Regions from separate parts of the Homo sapiens genome. Here regions 1 and 2 are each linked to region 3. The links are contacts of gene promoters, found by promoter capture Hi-C in blood cells and fetal thymus (Javierre and others, 2016). All regions are on one chromosome and are shown on one strand. The core of a region is centred on a gene start or on the middle of the fragment in contact, and the rest is flanking DNA. Distances in the headings are between cores, read along the strand shown.

Region 1 (3,490 bases), core at 222-2,721, 700 kb after region 3:
ATTATTTTTCTACCCAAGAACTTTTTTTTTTCTCTTTTCCCTCCTTCAATTCCTGGCATGGGAGAGAGAATAATTTCTGTAAAACCGAAGTCTTTTCTCAAGACAACGTGATTATGCAGAACATTAGGTCTCCTTTTTTACCAAACAGGAAGTGCTTTGAACTTGTTGGATGATAACATGTCAGCATTTATTTTTGATGAACAACTCAAGAATATGAAATTGATTTGAATTAAAAATTATTTAATAAGTTTCATTTAATATTCATCCTTTGGAGCTGTAGTCAGCTCCAAATGAACTCTAATAATCTTTAAATCTGTTAAATCACTTTAATAATCTTCATCTTTTTAATTTAATTGATGTATTTATTGTCTTTTAATATCCAGAAAGATGACCATTTCTTACCTTGGAGAAAGGACATTAGGATTATATACCTCACTGGCTGAGTTTAGAAAAGTAGTAATTATCTTTCAGTGATAACAAGTGTATAGCTCATAATAGAAGAATTCATATTTCCTAAGATTTTTAAAGAAGTACTGCTCAATTTAGCAAAATTGTTACAGTTTTACAATTGCACCTCTTCTCTTTTTAGGTGTTAAATTGCATTTGGACTTTTATGGCTAAACAAAACAAATATTTCAAGAGGTAAGAAGGTACATGATGAACACACTTCCTTAGTTAAATGAAAATAAAGGAGTTTTAAAGAGGAAAATTGAACTAACCAAGTTGAAATAAGGTCTGAGGAAAATCTAGATCTCAGACACAAAGGAAATCTTTATCTTTTAAAAAATTCCAAAAGGCTTGCACTTATACCAAGCTTTTGAGTTGAGAATAAAGGCCAAATGCAATAAATTTAAAAAAAAAACCTGTTGGAAATGTTTAACGATATGCATGGAGACATATTCTTCAATCCAGATATGAGCTTGGAAATTTAATATGAAGCTTGTATTACTAAATGTGCAATTATAAAAGGGAGGATGTGCAGTGGCCTAGAATTTTCTGTACATGGGCTTGGACTTTGGGGAATGGAAGATTCGTGTTTGAATTCATGAATTCATGAGTTTTGTCATCATGTACACATCATGTCATTTGAGCAGCCTTAGCTTCCTCATCTGCAAAGGGACAAGACTATCAATTATTGCACTGACCTTTAAGACCATTTTCACCTTATTATTTTATAATTCTATGATTTATAATGGTAGTTTTTCTCTAGATAGCATTTTTCTGAGATCCAATTGGATCCTTTGATCCTTTGAGATACAATATTTTTGCATTTAAAATAACATATGGCATCCTTTCAATTACCTGAAGAAACAGAAAAAGGTTTATTTCAACTTTAAGAAGACTTATTTTTAATAATCCTGAAATTTTGAGGCATTAACTATTACTAGACACAGACCAGATTAGGAACTGGGGCTTATTAACATTTTGCTCTTCTGAAATTTTTATCATTAAGTCATTTTTGTGAAGAAGTTTCAAATAACATGGTTAAAATTCTCAGAGAATAACAGAAATGAAAATGAGTAAGATCAACATCAAACCACCACTATCCATCCTGACAAATGCCTTATAGTTCCAAAAATTCTCACAAACTGTTTCATAGATTTGGGCCTTGATCCCATCACCATTCCAGGAAAAAACAAATACCTACGTGAAGCAAGTTGGTAACTTAGTCATAACTCTTAAGATAGCTCTTGCGTTAGGGAAGCTGAAGTGTGAAAAGACAATGAGGATTTCCTTTCATTTGGCAGGACAAATAGGATTATAGAGTAAATCCATTGAAGAGGAAGAGAAACAAGGCACCTTGACCCTGACTGAACTTCCTTGTGTGATTCCCCCCAGGGGTGAGGAGAATGAGCTGACAGATTCTCAGTAATGCAGCCAAGGATGTGAAGAGGCAGGTCCGGAGCTTGCTGGAAGGACCAACTGTGCACACTCACGTTGGCAAGGTAATGAGTGGGAAGACAATACGTGCTCCAAAGCATCAAATGGCCTTGCTGTCCCTCTAAGCTTCTTCCTCTATTATATAACATCCTAACAAGGTTTTAATGAGAACCCAAATAGTGTTTTATTTAGCTGTGAACTGTAAACCACTTGGATACACTCTCCACTGGCAAAGTAAAATAACAGTTTTTATTACACCTGTGGTATAGATAGAAGGATAATGTAGCCAAATGAAAATCTAAAACAATCGATTGTTTCTGCAGCAAGTCTTTTGCTATGATTTGCCCCAAATATGCAACTTGATGGCTCAGCTTCACTCCCTTTCCTTTCTTTGACTCATGAGATTCAAAGAGCTCTAGAATGTTAAGGAGAGTCAGAAGGAACAGGACAGGAAATAGAGCAGTAAAAAGAAGAAAAGGTGCTAGATTTTATACAACCTGGGCAATCAGGACAGAAGTTTCTAAGACTTACTGCTTCAAATACTCTTCAAGGATCAAACTAATTAAATCAAACAATGTGAAAGGGAGGACAGTCATATTCATTCATTCATTCATTCATTCATCATTTGTTAAGTTACTCAACAAATGAATGTTTTATCGCCCACTGTGTCCTTGCTACAGCCTAGAGGTGAACTTGTGTCCATGACTCTTTCCTTCCTCTATAAACAGGTTCAGCTCCTCACCTGCCCTCCCCCTTGGGCTCAGACACCTGAAGCACACACTTCGCTGCATGCACTGCTACCTCTGCCTATCTTCCCAGGCTGGCTTCCTGAATGCCACTGGCTCTTCTTATCAGTTCACTGAATCTTTGCTCCTACCCTTGGTTTGGGTCCCATTCTTGTCTTCGTCATCTCCTTGAACTTAACCACTAGCTGAGCAACCCCTGATGAACATGATCTTCAAAATTCTGTTTTTTACTTCTCTAACACTCTCTCACTTATGAAGGCTCTCTTTCACCATGAGGTCACACGGCTCTGGCACAGTGCTTAGCACACATTAAGCCCTTACTCTATGTTTATTGAATAAATGAATGAGGGCCTTGGAGCCTCTTTGGCTCCTTCTACCCTTTCTCTGAGCCACAGATGTCACTTCCCCTCTGCTGTCACCTACAGCAACCAGCGTGCCCCACAGACTCACTTCCTATGTACTTTCAGCTCCGGAATCCCAGCTGAGCCAAGGCCCTGGCTTTACTTTACCTGGGAGAAGAGATCAGACCTCTACCCTCCGAAATAGCTGACCATTCATCTGGCAAATAATGGAACACCCTGACTGATTTCCTTGTGTTGGCTGTGTTAAAATAGCTTAATAATCTCCATGCAACAGAACTCCCTTGAGTAAATGTGAGTTTCAGACCCATCAGTGTTTGTGGCAATTATTCTGAACTGTTTTCCTTTAGCTAACCTGCTCGCATTTCTATCCTTCCCCTCACTTCCCAGATCTTACTTAGCTCAGCCTTCCAGGTACCCTTTCTTTTTTTTTCCTGAAAATTTTTTTTTTATTTTATTTTATTATTATTATACTTTAAGTTTTAGGGTACATGTGCACAATGT
Region 2 (3,364 bases), core at 605-3,104, 730 kb after region 3:
GTCTAAAGCCTACTAGCAGTGTCAGTAAATGGAAAATATAGGCTAGATCTAGCTACCCCTGCAACTAACTAAATACCTTTCGATTGAGTAGACAATGAAAATTAGTGCTGGAAGAGAGAATTAGTTTAAGTCTTCATTTTGTAAGAGGCAAAGTGACATGCCCAAGACCAAACAACTAGTCATTGGTAAAGCTCTAATTAAGACCCTTAAAACTTGCTTCATTTGGTGTTCTTTTTCTATTCTGTCTGTTAGACAAAAGGAGTTAGCAGCATGAGTAGATCTATCACAGGACATGGTCCTTTCTCCTTAAGTCAAATGAGTTGACCCTATGGACATCCTCTGGCAATTGTTTTCCTCACATTACTTCAGGAATATATTATTTTATGTAATGTGTCCTCTCAAAAAGCTGTCTGTAAGTCATAAAATGGAACTTGCTGGTGTCTTAGAGTTCTACTAGGTCTGCTTCTTTATTCCTTGGATAAGGAAATCCTATCCGAGTGAGATGAATAGGTTTCTCTAAGGTGGCACACTACTAATTGTGCCAAAGTCTTGCTTAATGTACCACACTGCTTTAAGCATTTGTGTTGAGAAAAAGAAAAGTTTAGAGTATTAGGGGGTTTTGCTCCTTAAAAGGTCTTTTATGAATTATTTTTTACCATGGAGAATCCTTCTGTGAAGAGAATAACTTTCCCTTTTATACCTTTTCTGTTCTTACTATTTTGAATCTATAGAATTCATCATATACCTCAACTTTTTTGTCCATGAAAATATGCATCATCTGACTTTGAATAAGTCACACAATAATAAATTCAGATTAGAATTGTCCACACCTTTGTTTCTTCTAAATTTTGGGTATGTAAGCCTCTGATAATTCACATGACTTAATTAAGCAGAAATCTGGCTCCAAGTGTTGCCAGATGGTCACTATATGGATGAGTAAGACATTAACAAGGTGCAAAATGGGCTAAACCAACAAGCCCATTCCTTCAGAGTCCAACTTTGTTGTTTATTTCCCCTGGTGGCAGGAAAACTGGAATGAAACCATATCTCGTATGTGCGATGCTAGCCAGACATTGTGTGCATGTGGTAACAGGAGCCTTATCTCTCAGACCATTAATAAGGATTGGAATAAGCAAAGAAAGGGAAGCCAATAGCAATTGTTAGAGTGATTTTTGAACTCATTACTCATACAGCTGTATAAGAGACTTTAGAACTTCAGCCGACTTATCTTGCTGCAGCAAGTGGCAGTTGTACTTGCTCATGCCAGTGGCCTGAACACAAGAATGCTCAGGTATGAGAAAACACATAGAAAAGGCTGCTATAAGAGATTAATTAGAAAGTGATCATTCATGTTGCTAAATAATTTTTCACTTTCTAAAATATTAACTATGGTAATTATTTTTTCTACTAAGCTTTCTCAAAGCTACTAACATAATTTTAAGAAAATGAAAACCATGAGTTGCATGCAAATATAAAATAAACAAGTCAAAGATTCTATTCAGCTTATCTATTAAAGAAGGAATCAGTAAGATGTTTATGCTGGTTGCAAAAGCATTTGAGGACTTAGGCATTTATAAGCAATTTAATAAAGGAATGTCAGGATAAGATTGCTACACTGCATTAAAAAATTCTGGTTAATATCCTACAGGATACCATTACCTTTGGGATAATCTGTTCCACAAGCCAGACTTTATTTTCATTTTTACTGGACAAAAATTTATAAGTTTCGTGGTAATGTCACTACGTTTGAGACTTTTAATCAGTAGTATATAGTAAATCAAATTATATTCTCCTGGATAATCCCTTGGGAAATCCCTTGGGTAATCCCTTGGGTAAATCTTAAACCCATAAAATATTGGAAGAACTTGCAATCTACTTTTTTGTTTCTTCCTTTTTTCAATTTTGGATGCGTTTCCTTATCAGGGCATTTAATACATTTAAAAAATTAATTATGTGCTTTTTTACGAACATAGGCATTATATAAATATGTAATAACCATCTGGGGAAAATCAAATTATTAGATAAAAATAAGAGTTGTATACAGAATGACAAGTACTTAGAGGAATCCTTTGAGATGAGGTAATATGGACTGAAGCCCCCCTTGGATTTACTGCTACTATTTATTGAATGCTTACTATGTGTTGGTTGTCACATTAGGTGCTTTATAAACACTATCTCTAATGACTTTGAAAATAATTCTTTAATGATAACTGAAGAGCTGGGAGTCAGATAACTTCCTGAGGTCATACAGTTACTGAGTATAACAGCCATGGCCCAAACTCTGACTGTTGAGCTCTAAAGCTTGTGCTAACTTCTGTGCTCTGCCTCTTCTCACCATATCACTACAGGGGTAAGAATCTTACAATTTTGCATATTTAATTTTAAGCATAAATATTGACCCCTAATACTTGTTTCAGTATCAAACCTGGAGCTGATATTTAATGGAGATTTACTGATTGCTAGACACCGTGCTAGTGCCTTGCCCTAGCTGTCATATTTAATCATCCCAACAACCCCATGAGGGGGATCAAAAAGCACTATTAGTTGCAGGTTATGACAAAACACAATAACATTTAACTAAAGCACTATTTACTATATTTAAAAATTCTCCAAGTATCTTGTGTCATGTTGTATCTATAAAAGAGAGTCTCTTTCTCTCTCATAGTTTACAATTCAAGAGAGACTCTGTAAAAGTGAGAACATATTGACATACATAAAACTATGTAAACATGAAACAGAAACATAGATTAAACAGAGATGTAGATCATGTACCATTAAAAGCTTTCCTAAAACATTGTGAACGTTTCATAGAAAAAAAATGTATCAATGGTACCTTCTATCTTTTGGGAAATCATGAGCTTGCTTTATTATGATAGTGCAGAGAATAGTTGAATAATTTGGACTCTATGACTCTCAGCCCTAAATTCAGAAAGTGTAGTTATATACCCCAGTGTTTTTTATTTTTTTAAAAAAACCTCTAGGCAGGAGATATTTTGGTAGGACACAAGACCACAAATTTGTCATACTATTCATATTTTATTTTCTATTTTTACTATAGTGGATAATCCCCAAATAACTATTATGGAGTTAATCTATCACCATCTCCTTCCTATATCTTTTCTGAGGGAAGGTTGGAATTAATGGATGAAGATATGTAGACATCTATGGTGTTCTGGGAAGCTGAGCATGTCTGATATAAGGCATGTGAGGTTTAAATGCATGCATGTGTTAGATATGTTGTCTAGCCTTTCTAGCCCACTAACTATAAACTACATATCTATCTTATGTATCTATTGGTGTGGAAACTTTACTGTATGGGAATTTGGAGAATCTTAGAGTCAGGAGAGATCTTTAGAGATCATCA
Region 3 (3,311 bases), core at 201-2,700:
GGCTTCATTTATTTCTTTTAAGCTTAGTTCAGCTCTTTTACTAATATAAATAAATCATCCGTCTTTTCCCCTTTAACAAACAAAAGCAAAGAGATACTTGACCAAGTGTTATCCCCTGACAGTACAGGTTGTTGAGGATCTTTTACCTCCAAAAGCACCAGAGCAGGAATCTGTAAAATCAGCTCCGTTGCTCTTCACGTACCCTGATTTGATATCTTTTTAAAACGGTCTTAAATGTTGTGGTGACTGAAAACAAATGTGGAATAAGAACACCAAATAAATGATTTCCTCTTAGGAAAGGATTCAAGGGCCAAATAAACCTAGAGTTTAATACATAGTCTGGAAGATATTTCTGAAGCCGAGGGTGGGGGATCTGGCGGCGGGGCGGGGGAAAGACAGTAAATTGGTAAGATAACCAAATGTTAGGTAGCGGTTGAAGGCAAGTTTGGGGTGGGGGGTGAGAAGAGGGGAGGCCAAATACGCCCAGGAAATAAAGGAGATAACGAGTCAGGACTTCCTGCAGTTTCAGTTCGGTTTGGGTTTTGTTTTGTTTGTTTTGCAGCCTCACGCTCTCTACTGAGTCCCCACATCTCTGAGGGTCTCCCTAAATGAGTTTCTCCCCATCTGTAACTTTCGGGCAGTTACAAAGCACGCCAGTGTTCCTCTTTTGCTTCGCCCCTCTCCGGGGCGGGAAGGGAACGGCATGACATTGTCCTTTTTGCCGCTGATGAAATCATCCTGCAAGTGCTAGGATGAAGTGCGAGCGAAGCTGCGGCCAACGCCGCGCTTTCCAAAGCCAGGCCAACATTACTAAGAGGGAAATTCTGCTTTAGCTGCCGGGAATCCCCAGGGGTATCTCTAGAAACGCGGGATATCCCCGCTGCTCTCTTGGCGGCCAGTTCAGAAACCGCTCAGAACTCAGTCCAGGGCAGGTACTGGAGGGCGAAGTGCGCCGGGCGGGGGCGGCACTGACCCCGAGGCGGCGGGAGCGGCGAAGGCGCCGGCGTCCCCACCCGCATCCTGCACCTGCCTCGCTCCCAAGCCCTCCCGGTCCCCGGTCCACACCCGCGCCGGAGCGCGCCGGCTGGGGCAGGAAACCCGACTCGCGCGGGCGGGCTGCGGTCGGGGATCCCCGCGCGCTACAGGGAGAGGGCCCGGGGCGCGCCCCTTGGGGCCCCGACCGCGGCAGCCAGCCTGGTGCACGGGTCAGGGTGCTCCCCAGGCCCCCGGGCGGGCGGGCGTACCTCGGATGTAAGCGCACTTGCCCTCGTCCAGCTGGCTGGAGGCTGAGCCGCCCATGACCGCGAGCTGCCTGTGCTGAGCGCGGAAACTGCCCGGTCCGCGCCCGCTGCTAGCTCCTGGAGGTTGATCCGACGGCGAACCCGGCTCTGAAATTAAGAGCAAACTTCCTTCGAGAGGCGAGAGACAGGAGGCAAGAGGCGTCGCCTTCTGGGGCGCCTCCTCCAGGTCCGCGCCTTCTGATGATCCGTGGGCCGGCCCGGGGGCTGTCTTCCCGCCCTCGCCTAGCTGGTGAGCTCCGACGGGCTGGCAACCGAGGAGGTCGGCCAGCTCCTCCTCCTCGCCCACGGTCACTTCTTGTTTTCATCCCTTTGGGGCATCCAAGAAACACCTTGGAGGAAGTGGACCATTTCTCAAGTGACTAAATCTCTGTGAGCTGGAACTTTCCCAGCTCACATCCTTCGAGGTGGAGCTCAAGATCACGTTGCCTTGTAAGTGTTGCTGTCCAAGAAGCAACAGTTCTTCCCAAGCATTACCTGGGAGCCTGTTAGAAATACAAAATCTCAGCGCTTTCGTCCACCACCCCTCTACACACACACAGACACACACACACTTAGAATCTGTGGGAGTGGAGCCCAGCAATCTGTGTTTGCACAAACCCTCCAGGGAATTCTGATGCCCGCTGAAGTTTGAGAACTAGAGGTAAACTATACCTTTCTGCAGGCGAGAACCTGGACCAAGGAGGGAGTGGGGAAATGAGGAAAAAAGGAAAGAGAAAAAAAAATGGAAAGACAGGGAAAAACTAAGGCTTGGTCCTGCAATATACTCCCAGCCCTGAAACTTCCTAAGACTTGATGAACGTCTGTCCTTACCCCTTTACTTTCCATTCCTCTCCTTAACTGGAAATCAATCATTAGAAAAGATATTTGTTCTTTTCCCACAACCACTATTTAGCTTGGCAGCCTCTCGGAACAAGACCCACTTGGGCAGAGGGGTCACCGCTGATTTCATCCTATTCTTAGTAGTCAGTTATTTTGCGACTCCTATTGACTTAACCTCAAGGTCAAATGGTCTGTATACACTAGAACCAGGCCTGAGGAGGACTTTGAAGGCTTTCCCACACACCCCCGCCTTCCCTATTAGCTAACTTGCACTTTAACACAATTATTTCATCACACTCACACCCAATCTCTCACACTCTACATTCCAATCTGTCAGTAAATCCTGTCAATTCAGCTTTTAAATATGTCCAATAGCCAACCAATTCTCATCCCCTCTACTGACATCCCATATCATTCCTCACCTTATTCATTACACTAGCTGCCTAACTGATCTACCTTCTTCAGAGAAAAGCCACGACGTCTATCAGGGCCTAGGTGGAGTTTCCTCTGTGATCTTCTCTACCACCACTCCTTGTTCTCTCTGTTCCAGCCCTACTAGCCTTTTTTTTTACTCTTTCTGAGACACATCAAGCTCAGGGCCTTTGCACTTGTTTTTCATTTCTGTAGGATGCTCTTCCTTCAGATATTCACATAGGTTACTCTCTCAGTCATTTCATTCAAGCCTCCACTTTAATGCTAGTAATTCAGAGAGGTTCTCCTTGACCCAGGAACACCAGCCATCACCTCTCTCTGCCACTTGCTCTTCATTATTTCTGTTTCATATCACTTAGTATCATCTAACACATATTTCTTTGTCTATCTTCCCCCACTGCGATGTAAACTCTATAAGATCAGGGATTTTCTTTGTTGTTATTGTTGTTTCTTGGGGCTTTTTCCCTCAAAATTTCTGTTTCCTTTTTTATTATTATTTTTCCTCTTATGGCAGGGATTTTTTTGTCTATTCTGTCCTCTGCTGTATTTCAAATGCCTAGAAGAGCACCTAGCATGTAGTAGGTGTCCAGTAGATAACCACTGAATAAGTGAATGAATGAAAAATAAAATGTAAAAATCTGTACTCAACAAAAACTGTGATCTCAAGCATTTCCAGATAACAACTCAATGATTTAAAATATTTAGTGTTGAACTCTTCTCTCAATACTCTAGTTGGCTCCTAGAATTAAGTGTATCTTC

Evidence for each region. The method cuts DNA at HindIII sites, captures the fragments that hold promoters and counts their contacts. A CHiCAGO score of 5 or more calls a contact.
Region 1: a fragment that was not itself captured here is called in contact with the fragment with the promoter of NIBAN1 in region 3 in 5 of 17 cell types (megakaryocytes, naive B cells, total CD4 T cells and 2 more); the score reaches 8.0 in megakaryocytes.
Region 2: a fragment that was not itself captured here is called in contact with the fragment with the promoter of NIBAN1 in region 3 in 2 of 17 cell types (total CD4 T cells and naive B cells); the score reaches 5.2 in total CD4 T cells.

What each region holds. Positions count from the first base shown.
Region 1 is chr1:185,677,610-185,681,099 of GRCh38, forward strand. LOC107985239 (a long non-coding RNA gene) reads left to right here. Exons shown (of 3, transcript XR_001738340.2): 2 at 1,840-1,946; 3 at 3,095-3,296. Among named protein-coding and RNA genes, the nearest start is that of GS1-204I12.4, 33 kb to the left of the region's middle. The HindIII fragment of the contact is 1,068 bases long and covers 938-2,005 here.
Region 2 is chr1:185,703,273-185,706,636 of GRCh38, forward strand. No RefSeq gene overlaps it. Among named protein-coding and RNA genes, the nearest start is that of HMCN1, 29 kb to the right of the region's middle. The HindIII fragment of the contact is 889 bases long and covers 1,411-2,299 here.
Region 3 is chr1:184,973,058-184,976,368 of GRCh38, forward strand. It overlaps NIBAN1 (niban apoptosis regulator 1), which reads right to left and starts at 1,451. Exons shown (of 14, transcript NM_052966.4): 1 at 1,245-1,451. The coding sequence starts at 1,299. RefSeq lists an enhancer at 636-805 and a silencer at 916-1,235. The HindIII fragment of the contact is 8,420 bases long and covers 21-3,311 here.